Linked DNA regions of Homo sapiens: region 2 is linked to region 1. The links are contacts of gene promoters, found by promoter capture Hi-C in human tissues and cell types (Jung and others, 2019). All regions are on one chromosome and are shown on one strand. Each heading gives the region's core, a stretch centred on a gene start or on the middle of the fragment in contact. The rest is flanking DNA. Distances are from core to core; before and after follow the strand shown. Region 1 holds the start of FHDC1 (FH2 domain containing 1). Region 2 overlaps ARFIP1 (ARF interacting protein 1).

What was found. The method cuts DNA at HindIII sites, captures the fragments that hold promoters and counts their contacts. A contact is called where the count stands out against the background at its distance.
Region 2: a contact is called between a fragment that was not itself captured here and the fragment with the promoter of FHDC1 in region 1, in 1 of the 25 tissues and cell types used here (mesendoderm cells).

What each region holds. Positions count from the first base shown.
Region 1 is chr4:152,933,385-152,938,863 of GRCh38, forward strand. FHDC1 (FH2 domain containing 1) reads left to right here and starts at 2,939. Exons shown (of 12, transcript NM_001371116.1): 1 at 2,939-3,025. LOC729870 (a long non-coding RNA gene) reads right to left here and starts at 3,453. Exons shown (of 2, transcript NR_136614.1): 1 at 3,265-3,453; 2 at 1,132-2,066. RefSeq lists silencers at 2,895-2,984, 4,317-4,576. The HindIII fragment of the contact is 7,704 bases long and covers 1-5,479 here.
Region 2 is chr4:152,882,464-152,887,942 of GRCh38, forward strand. ARFIP1 (ARF interacting protein 1) reads left to right here. Exons shown (of 9, transcript NM_001025595.3): 7 at 260-417. Among named protein-coding and RNA genes, the nearest start is that of FHDC1, 51 kb to the right of the region's middle. The HindIII fragment of the contact is 4,299 bases long and covers 1,097-5,395 here.

The DNA of each region.
Region 1 (5,479 bases), core at 1,689-4,188:
CGCCATGCTTCATTCAAGCACTTTTTGACCACATCCTATGTACAATTTGAAAAATAAGAGTCAAAGTAGGCCAGGCGTGGTGGCTTACATATGTAATCCCAGCACTCTGGGAGGCTGAGGCGGGTGGATCACAAGGTCAGGAGATTGAGACCATTCTGGCCAACATGGTGAAACCCTATCTCTACTAAAAATACAAAAATTAGCCAGGTGTGGTGGTGCATGCTTGTAATCCCAGCTACTTGGGAGGCTGAGGCAGGAGAATCGCTTGAACCTGGGAGGCAGAGGTTGCAGTGAGCTGAGATCGCTCCACTGCATTCCAGCCTGGCGACAGTGAGACCCCGTCTCAAAAAAAAAAAAAAAAAAAAAAGTCAAAATAAGCATGACATATTCAGGGGCAGTACGTCCCACTGCTTGAGTGAAATGGGACGCATCCAATTGTGGGAGATAAACGTAGGATGCTGCCGGATTGTCAGACTGAAGAATGCTGCCTTCTTCCTGTAGGAGCACATGGGAATCTGCAGAAGGTTTTGAAGAGGTAGGTAGTGTGATGAAATCAGACTTTTAAAAACAGTGACCTGACAGCAGTTTTGGGATGGATTTAGGAAGAAGAGAGAAGCAGAAAGAACACCAAGGTAGTGGATGTAGGTATCCAATTTAACTTCTCTAAGCTAGGAAATCAGAATGCTTATAGGATCATGGTGAGAATTAAGTGTGGTGCCTGATATGTGGCCAACAGCAGATAAATACTTGTTCCCTCTTCCACTACTTGGGGTTACTGCAGTGATGGTGCATGTGAAAAATAAAACAGGTTACTTGGGAAAGAGCAGCAAATTTAGCAAATACTTGAATTTTAAAGAATTTAAGAGAGACAAGCAAAGGAAAAGCTAGGATTTCAAACAGAAAAACCAGGTCTTAGGTAAAGAGGGGGAGGTGGTGGGTGTGGGAAGAGTACTAGTTTTGAGGGAAAGATGAGTTGATTTTTGGATATTTTTATTTGGACTTGAAATTTTACAACGATAATATGGATTCAAGAGTCCCTGACATTGAAGAGAAACCCGGAGATATACCTTGAAGCTCAAATTTCCAAGCCCCTCATTTTCCCTGGGCCCTTCCAAGGATACATGTCTAGTATTATGTTTGTAAGTTTTTATTGCTTTCCTTTAAGAAGTTCCCCCAGGAGTTATACAAGCTTCAGGTCCCACGACATCTGGATGGGTTCAGTTTGAAATCAGAAGGTATTTCTTTGGGATACTGGGAGATCGAGAGTTGGAAAAACCTTGTTACTGTCCTCAAAGGAAGAGAAGGGTCAGCAGAGAAGTCCAGAGAAGCATAGAGAAGGCCTTAGGGTAGGATGCTGCCAAGGAGATCAAAGGGATGAGGGGCTGAGAATGGGTCACCAGACTTGACTTCTCAAAAAGTAACTGTTTTAGAGTGCATGCTCAATACAGTTGGGGGGAGGCCCACTGTCACGGGGTTGAGGAGGGAGGAGTAGGCAAGGGGTGTGGACTCCCCATTTAACAAGGTCGACAGTAAGAGAAAAGAAGATGCCACTCAACTCCTCACTTTCGATCTGCTGTAATTTAACTTGAGCCTGAACAGTCAATATTCCTTTGGGATTCATATTAGCTCCCTGAGCATGACATTGTCTTTCTCTTTATTACATTTTCTTATTCCTTAAGATTTTAAGATTTTCTTAATTGGATCCATTTCTCTTCATGCACCATCAATGGCCAAGAAATGGGCTATTGGCAGGCACAGTTTTGGTTTTGGGGTTGATTGGTTTGTTTACACTAATAGTTTCTCTTTCTCGATCCAAGGCTTGACCAAGGAGGTCAGGAATTCTGTCCTGGGAGTTCAGGGACTGAGGACCAGGATGGAGGAAGCAAAAGGCGTCAGGCATTAGGCTGGAAACGTCTTGGTCGGTTATCTAGGATCAAAGAGTCAAAGGTAGCGATGACTTCATCCCCGTAGAGGGCGCCTCCCTACCCCGACAGTGGATTTTCGGTCAGCCGGTTTGCCCGGGATGTTTTCTTTGACTACTTGCTTCTCACTGGCGCCCCAAGTCACTTTGAAGAAAAAAAAAATGTGATTAAATCGATTCCCCTGTTTCTTTCTGTGAGGAGTGTGCCTTTCCCAGACAGCGTGCGTTCATTCGATGAGGCCTGGCAAAATTTTTGAGGGGTCTTTTTACGCTTTAATACAACCTAAAGGTTTCTGTTACCATCATCATTGAGAATTAAAAACAAAAACAAAATAAAAAACGGTAACAAATTTACAGCTTGGCAGGCCCCAGGGAGGAGCTGACCTTTGCGAAGCTCTAGCGCAGCCAGGTTTCAGCTGTAGGGGTTGGGACAGGTCAGTTCGCCCAAGTGCTGCTAGCTCTCCAGGGAGAAGCAAGTGTTGGGGCAGAGGGTGGTCTGGCGCGTGCGTCGGGGGGCGTGTGCGGGTGTGTGTGTGTGTGTGCGCGCGTGTATATAAGAGTGTGTGCGCGCCCGTGTGCACAAGAGAGGGTGCCTGGGAGGCTGTCGCAAAGGCTCCTTTGTGAAAGGCACTTGCAGGTTCAGAAGCCAGCTTGGCGCCTCCTCTCGCCCGTTCCCCGAGGACACCTGGCTCTTCTGGGCAGCCCAGCTATCTCCGTCTCCTGCCGCCCCTACTTCTCTCGGTGGCCCCCGGCCTAGCCCCGCACCAGCCTTCGGGTGCGGGAAGCAGTGTGCCCCGAGGCGTCTCCCCCGGGGCCCCGCGCAGGTGAAGGTGAGCGCGTGGCGGTGACGGTGGCGCGCGTAGGGTGGAAGGGGAGGCGAGGGAGGGGCGGAGCAGGAAAGGGCGCGCTGCCCTTCCCGGCCGGCCAGGAGCAGCGAGGCCGCAGCTTTGTTACCTGAGGCTGCCGCTGCGCCCCGCCCCGCCCTGCCCCCTCGCGCTCAGGGTTGGCTGGGCCTGCAGTGACCGGGAGGAGGCGGCTACGCCGACACAACGGCGGGAGGCTGCAGCGGTCTGCGCGCCGGGAGCGGGGGCGCGCTGGCCGCGGGTGAGTGCGGGTCGGGCGGCCGAGGCGGGGGCGACCGCGGCGCGGGACACGGGGAGCTGGAGCCCCGCCGCTCGGGAGGGTCAGGGTTGGGGTGTTGTCCGGGACCCGAGGCTGAGGCGCCGAGAAGCGCGGCTGATGGGTGCCGGGTCTCGGCTTCCTCCGAGCCTCACCGGGAAAGCTGGAGAGGAGGTTCCAGTTCCCTCCACATCCACCCCGGTGACTTTGGCGGCCGCCCTTACCCGGCCACGGAGAACAGCGATCGGTCCCTGGAGGCGAGGACGCGCCGGTGTGGACCCGCGTCTGGAGAACGAGCTGCATCGCCAAGGCTGCTGCGGGTCGCACCTGGGCGGTTGACTATTAGTCGTGGCTAAGACTTTCAGATCAACCGCCCCCTAGTTTATCCCGACCCTTGGGAGACAGCGGCGTCCCGCACGGAATGCGCAGCCGCGGCGCCGCGCTCGGTTCCCTAGCCAGCCGGGGGCCACGCCTGGCCCCTGACACAGTGGTGGGGCGGTGGCGGGGACCTAGTGCGGTGGTGCGGACCGAGGACCAGGCGCTTCTCGCCCCGACAAACTTGCTCCGGCCGCGCGAAGTTCGGATTGCAAGTTGCGCCCCGCGCCTGCAGGAGTGTGGGGAGGGGGAGGAAGCGGGTGGGCTGGGGATCAGCCTCCAAACAAGGGGTGTCCCCAGCTCTTGGAGAGCGGGTTCTGACCGGTTTCAAACGCCAGGAGTCTCCCCTCTGTTTTTCTCAGCGGCTCGACCCGGCTCCCTTTTGGCAGAGCCGCAGTGCGGCCGTGAGGCTTTTCCCCCGCGCCTGCGACCTGGATGGGGGACGTGGGAAGATGTCGCGGCGGAGGCTCCGGGTGGGTTGGGAGCGCGCGGCCGCCGCAGACCCGGTGTCTGCGAGCCGGAAGACCCCCCCTTTCGTTTCATTCACACGGACACCTCCCCTAGTTAGCCGTCTCCCACCCAACTTCTGGGCGCAGCGTGCTAAACCCCCGCAGAGGGGCTGGCGCCCTGGGGGGCGTGGCGTGGGGAGCGTGGGCTTTCCAGCGTGGGCCCCTCGGGGAGGGGGGCGGGGCCGAGACCCCCTCCAACTGGAGGGGCCGGGAATGGGCGAGCGGGTGCGGCGGCCGACCCAGCAGCTGCAGCCGCCGGACGGGAGAGCGGTCGGCGCTGCGGAAGGCCGAGGGTCGTGCAACGCCCGCGCTGGGCGCCCGCCCCGCAGTCCCCGCCCCGCAGGCCGCGGCTTCTCTCCCCGCCGCAGAGCTGGCGCGGCGCGTGTGGGCGTCGATCTCAGCGCGCACCGGCGCCCCACCCTCGCGCCGCGACGCCCTTCTGCCCGGCGCTGATAAGGACGCAGCTGGGGCTCCGCGCGGCCCGTGGGCCGCCCACTCGCGTTCAGTTTGCTGACCCCAGCGCGGCTCCCCGGGGATTCGCGGCCCAGCCGGTGGCGGCTGAGCCGGTGGCTTGTTGGTGAGTGGCTCGGGCGGGGACCGGGGTGCCGGGTTGGGGATGTAAGGAGGCTGCGGACAGCTGTCTAACGCAGAGAGCTGGTGAACTACTACGTATCCAAACTTGAAAGAAGTGGTGTCCCAGGACCCCCCAGGCCGAATTTCTTCCGGACTTAATGGTCGGTTTTCAAACTTCCGTGTGGACAGAAACGACCTCCGGGATTCGGCCGTCTGTGACCCCCTTCAACTGACCCACAGTTGTCTTCCTGGAAGGAGCAGCCGGCGCTCCCTTCCCTCTCTCTAGAGCATCCTTTGGCACGCATGTGCTTTTTTTTTTTTTTTTCTTGGTTTTGGGACAGTGAGAGAAACTGAAAATGAACATTCAAATACAGGCGTTTTTCCTCTGCTCTCGGGTGTTGGTCTCGGGCGCCTATGAATATTTACATTGTGCTGCAGATTGAAGGCGCTTACTGGGAACGCGTTGTCCTGGGTTCTTTCACTACTGCCTGGAGCACAGGCAGACGGAACTCACAGAAGAGCTGGACGGTCCGGCTCTGGCCCGACTGCGTAATTGTACCGACTGACATTCTGTGTTTAATAATCAAGAAAGCTTTTGAAAGATAAGTGGTGGTGGAGGAGCCTTTTCCCGAATTAGTGGAGTGGGAGTAAAAATTCCATAGTTTAGAATTGTCCGTACTTTCCCCATCCTTTTCTTCTCTCCCAAATACAATAAAATAGGGCTGTGTGTTTCTCTACCTCTGCTCTCCAAACTCGGCTTGTTCTACCCTGGTTTGTCATCAGAAGCATGTGGGCCAGCCCTTCCTGCCCCCACCTCTTCTGTGGCACATGCCAGGAGTCAAGGAGAAAGGTTTTCTGGCAGGTTTTCCTTGATGTTCCTTTTGATTATTGTTGACCAAAGGAGTGAGTGACCAGCTGAGCACCAAGACCCTCATTCTGAGCACCAGAACCACTGGTGCAGAACCACTCATTCTGAGCACCA
Region 2 (5,479 bases), core at 1,996-4,495, 51 kb before region 1:
TACTACAAAGTAACTTAAAAAAATTATTTAGCTTTTAGGTATGTATCTGAGCTGATGACAATTTTGGTTTATTAGACTTTTTCAGTAATTATATGGCTAGCTGTGATTTCGATTCTTAAAGACGGAAAGGAAAAGTAAAACTGCTACAGCTAGATCTCTATCTAAATCACATATTTTCCCATTAGTGACGTGCTTGAGATTTTTAAGTCACTTTTACTGATTTATTACTGAATAAATTAAGGTGACTTCTTTGTTTTAGGAAGAATTTGGCTATAATGCCGATACCCAGAAACTGCTGGCTAAAAATGGAGAGACTCTTCTTGGGGCCATTAATTTTTTCATTGCTAGTGTGAACACTTTGGTGAATAAAACCATTGAAGATACATTAATGACTGTGAAACAGTATGAAAGTGCCAGGTAAGGTATACATTTTCACTGTGTTGTCTGTTTTACAGATGGCATATAATTCAGTTAATTTTTTGGTTACAAACAACAGAAACCAACTCTGGCCAATATGGGCAGGAAAAAAATGTACTGGAAAGTTATAGGATGCCTCTACAGACCTGGCAGAAAGGGAGAGAACAAGATTCTGGAAACAACCAAGAACCAAAGCCAAGTTAAGCCTCAGAAGAATCTAATTAGAACCCCTATGCTGGGTGCCTCTAGTACTTGATGCTGCCACAGCTACCATAAATAATTTCCTAAATACCCATGAATACTTGCTTCATTGCCTTGAGATTATCTAATTGAGCCTTGGTCATGTGCCCAAACCCTGCCTTCTAGTGAGTAGGGAAATGGAGGATCTCCCAGCTCTGGCTTCTTTAGAAGAGGACAGGGCCCTATGTTCTACCAGGTAGGTATTACATGGTCCTCTATACTCTCGCCTAAATTTACCTTTCATCCTTATTACCACTGCTTCCACAATAGCCAGACCCATACTTTCAGTTTCTATTGAATAAATAAGCTCATTTTGCCTCCATGATTTTTGTTTGTTAGGATATCAGTCATCTTCCATTTATCCAGATTATAACAAGCCTTCAAACCCTTTCAAATTTTACCTTTTATATAAATTAAATATTTGACTTGTATTTTGATAACTGTTCATAATGCAGTGTTTTTATACATCCTATTTTAATGGGTTTTTGTATATCCATATTCATATATATATGTATATATACAGTTTCCCTGTCTCATAACTATCCTGTTAAATGGTGAACAAAATATATATTAATAAATATATTAATAAATATTTTGAAGGGTCTAAAATATGGCAGACCTATAATAGCCTTTTTCACCTTTTGATTCCAGGCCCAATTTTTTCCCCATATGCCCTACCCCTTTTATTTAAGTATCATTCTAGTCCCTTTTGAGGTTTTTTTCTTTTGAGCACTCAAAATTCTTATTTTCCATTATACTTTTTATGCATAGTTGAAGATAAACTTTACCTTTTAGAAGGATAACTTTACTCTTTGGCCTCTTATCCTAGTTTAATGGTATGAGAAATACCTGTAAAAAACTCCAAACTCATCTAGTATTTTTGCAATTGAGTGCTTATTAAATATATATTTCCTTACACTTCAATTAAGTAAAAGCCCAAATCATTTTGAAAAGTTAATTTTTGATGTTTTCACAGGAAGAGATGCTTCTGTCCCATACCATGTTTATTTTGTCATTTTCCATTTAGTATTAAAGTATGAGATTCTTATTGACTTGAAAATGAAGGTCAAACAGCTGTGGTTGTATGGAGGGGTAAGGGTGAGGATAGCTGTTAGTAAGATAGCCTTCCGTGGAAATCTCTTCAATAACATTCTCAGTAATTGGTGTTTCAGTCTCAGTGTAAATCCTTTCATGGAAATTATATTTTTCAAAGGGTTCATTATGTATATGAATTTTAAAATTCATTTATATAAGTTTTACTTGATCCTTTTCTAAATTTTTCTGTTCCTTGTTCATAATGTCCTAATTTGTTCATAATGGTACTGTTTCTTTTATCTCTAATCATTTTAAATATTCATATTTTCTAGTCCTTCTGATTGTTTTAACATGTATGGGTTTTAAAGATGGATATTGTTTTCTTCCAAAAATACCCCCACCACCTCCTAGTTGAGAACTTTGTGAATCTAGTTTCTCTACTTTGCAATTGTCTACCTATCCTGAAATATATTTTCGTTAATAATAATCTCTTTCCCTTCAGCTTTTATTTCTAAACAGTTTATAATTAATTTGTAGAGGAGAAAACACTCTAGAGGTTAAATGGTTTGCTCACTTGTAGTCAATTTCAAAGGCAAAATAAGAACCCATTGGTTCTCTATGGTTCACATTTTATCAGTAGGCCTTATACCTGAGTATTAGTGCCCTAAGTATAATGTGGTATAAGATCTCAGATTATAAAATACAGTATATAGGTTCATTTGGAACTTTTGAACAAAATTATAAATCAAGTTACATGTACTTGGTGGCTGGTTTCTTAAGGGAAACCCTTACACAGCCTCTGTGTGTACTTTAAAAAACAACAACAGTAATGTTGTTTTTGTTTTATGTCATCCCGTAATTTATCCTTTTTTATTCAAATTACAATGTATGATCTTATTCATTAAGCTTAGCTTGGGGTTTGACTTTTCTGTTGTTTATGAAATAGCTGTGGAATTGGCTAGTTGTTAACACTAAAACCTTGCCTACTGATGGATAATAGTCAAAAAGAATCCAAGGTTAAAAGTTTTTCAGTAGCTGAATTTCCTTCTCTGTCAAAGCCAGAATTTACTGACTTTTAGGGCAAGGGTCATCTATTTGATCAGTGCAAAAAGTGGTAATTTAGGCAAATGCCCGAGTGGCCTTTTAATCCTCCCTATTATGCATTGTGTACAAGTATTTCCTAGCCCTCTGGTGCTTCATGTATAGAAAATCTTGTAACAGCCCATTCAACACTTCTCCACAGCAGCACCAACAAGGGAGTCAATTGTGGTCGAGACTTTTCAGATGTGGACACCTGTTCTCTAGAAGTTTTACATAAGCCATAAAGTAACCGTCACTAACTTTGTTGATACGGACTCAGTTCAGACGGGCAACCTTGAAGTGAAGTTGCTTTTTGAAAACTTAGTGAGCTTCTCTTCTTGGTGGTAATGAGCACTGTTAGAGAAGCTATTATGGAAAGTTTTACTTTGGTACCACCTACAAACTCTGAATGTAAAATTAAGAAATATAAGGTCAGTATTATAACTTTGAATATGTTTGAGTTAATCACTGTTGTTTAGAAATGCGCTCCAAGGCTATTGAAGGATATTTGTCCTTAGATTAAATCACCATGTATTACTATTTATTTAGTTCTACTTTTTTCTCTTTTATTTCCTATTGTTTTTAGTGTGCTTGCTTCTAGATACCCCTCTTCTAATTTGGCCATAATAATAAGCATTCTAAAGGTATCAGTTATTACCAGGTATCCTGTGTGTTTTATCTATATGAAGTTTTTGTGGAGATTTTTGTTCACATTTATAGATTGAAAAACTGGAGCACAAAGAGATGAAATAACCAGCTCAAGAATAGAGCCAAAAGGCAGAGAGGTCATTCAGCTTGGCTCCTGAACCCATGGATTTAACTAACTAGTTATTATTGCCAAGTCAGTCTTGCCTCCTAAATCTTTTGTATTTGTCTCCTTAGCTCCAATGCCTTTGTCCTGATTCAGTGACTCATTTCTTATATGTCCATCGTTTTCTAATAGGTTTCCTTGCTCCTGATTTTTTAATCATTTATTCTATCCTCCATCTCTTACACTACCACCAGGGTCATCTTTCTATCCTGATACAATCATGTCATTTTTATGTCAGATCAACATTCTTCAGTGGCTTCCCATTACTTCTCCTACTGGATTAAATTTAAACACTTTAACATGGCCTGTAGGGCTGCTTACTTTCAATCCTGCCTGCCTGTCTAATGTTAATTCCTTCCATTGTCATGTTCCAGCTTCAGATTCTGACATACCGAATTCCCAAATGTGTCATTGTATCTTACAAATCTATGCCTTTGTCCATGCTATTCTCTTCAGAATCAGAGTATCCTACTGATTTCTGTATCCCAATTCACCTAGCCAGCTTTTACCATCCTTCAAATTTTAATTATAGTATTTTAATTCTGTCTGAGATACCTTTTCAGATATCTAATTAAATAATTATTCCTCTTGATTTCCATTATACCTTACCCTCATTTATGGTAGTTCTTATTATCTCATTTTGTTGTAATTGTTTACAAGGTTCTCTTCCTCTAGAATGCGAGCTTCTTGAGGATAAACATATCTGTTCATCTTTATAGCTCTACTTTCTAACACAGTGCCTGGAACGTGGAAAGTGCTCACTTGAGAATTGTTGAATGAATCAGTGTATCAGTGAATGAATGAATGGTTCTCTTTTGACCCTGAAAGAGGCCAATTAAATTAAATCTTAACTCATACTGCTAAATTCAGTATGAGTTAAGAATAAATTAGGATCAGTGTGAAGGACTGATGTATTCTTTCTCAAGTCATATATACAATATAGATTATGTTATTTAAAGTATTGTTAATTCCCAGAATAGGAGATGTGAATTATACACCTAATATCTCCAAATAAAGAGCTTTAGTTTTAGGGTATAAGCTTTGTGATTCTGATCTTGACTAAATTAGAGGTCACTTTGCTTCTTCTTTGCTGAGTACCGAATAGTTGAAGCTGCTGGATAAATCACTGTTTAATAAGCAAGATAGTACTATACTTAGACAGGCACTGTGATAGAGCTATTATGAGGAGTTATGGGATCTTGGAGTGATGACAGTGGTGGGGTAACTATTTGAGTTGATGGGGGGAGAATATCAGAGTGAGGCATCTTACAGAACACAGGATGGTAAGTGCTCTACAATAGATACTGTTGTTACATTCTGAATACTGATGTTACAGAAATTCATCTAGAGTTGTGTTGTCAAGTATAGTAGCCACACATGTCTGGTGAGCACTTGAAATGTGGCTAGTCTGAATTGAGATGGGATAGAAGTGTAAAATACACAGTGGATTTCAAAGACTCACTACCCACTCTCCAAATGTAAAGTACCTATGAATAATTCTGTTACATTGATTACATGCCACAATGATTAATATTTTAGATATATTGGGTAAAATGAAATATATTGATAACAGGTGAAATTAATTATTATTTCATTGTAACTACTAGAAAATTTTAAATTACATGTGTTACTCACATTACATTTTTGTTGTGCATTGCTAACCCAGACTTTTTTCAGAACCATTTACACTTCCGTTAGTTTTAGTATGCCATTCTAGAGTCTGCTGTCCTTACCTGCTTTGCCTAATCAGTACTAAGCAATTCACTTGGGGTATTTATTCTACCCTTGATCTTGTTTTGACATTTATTTTTTTTAACTGGTTTTTAGATTTTGGAAATTTTACTTGTCAGTTAATACTGTGCTTTGAGAGAAATAGTTAATGAGATTAACCAGCAG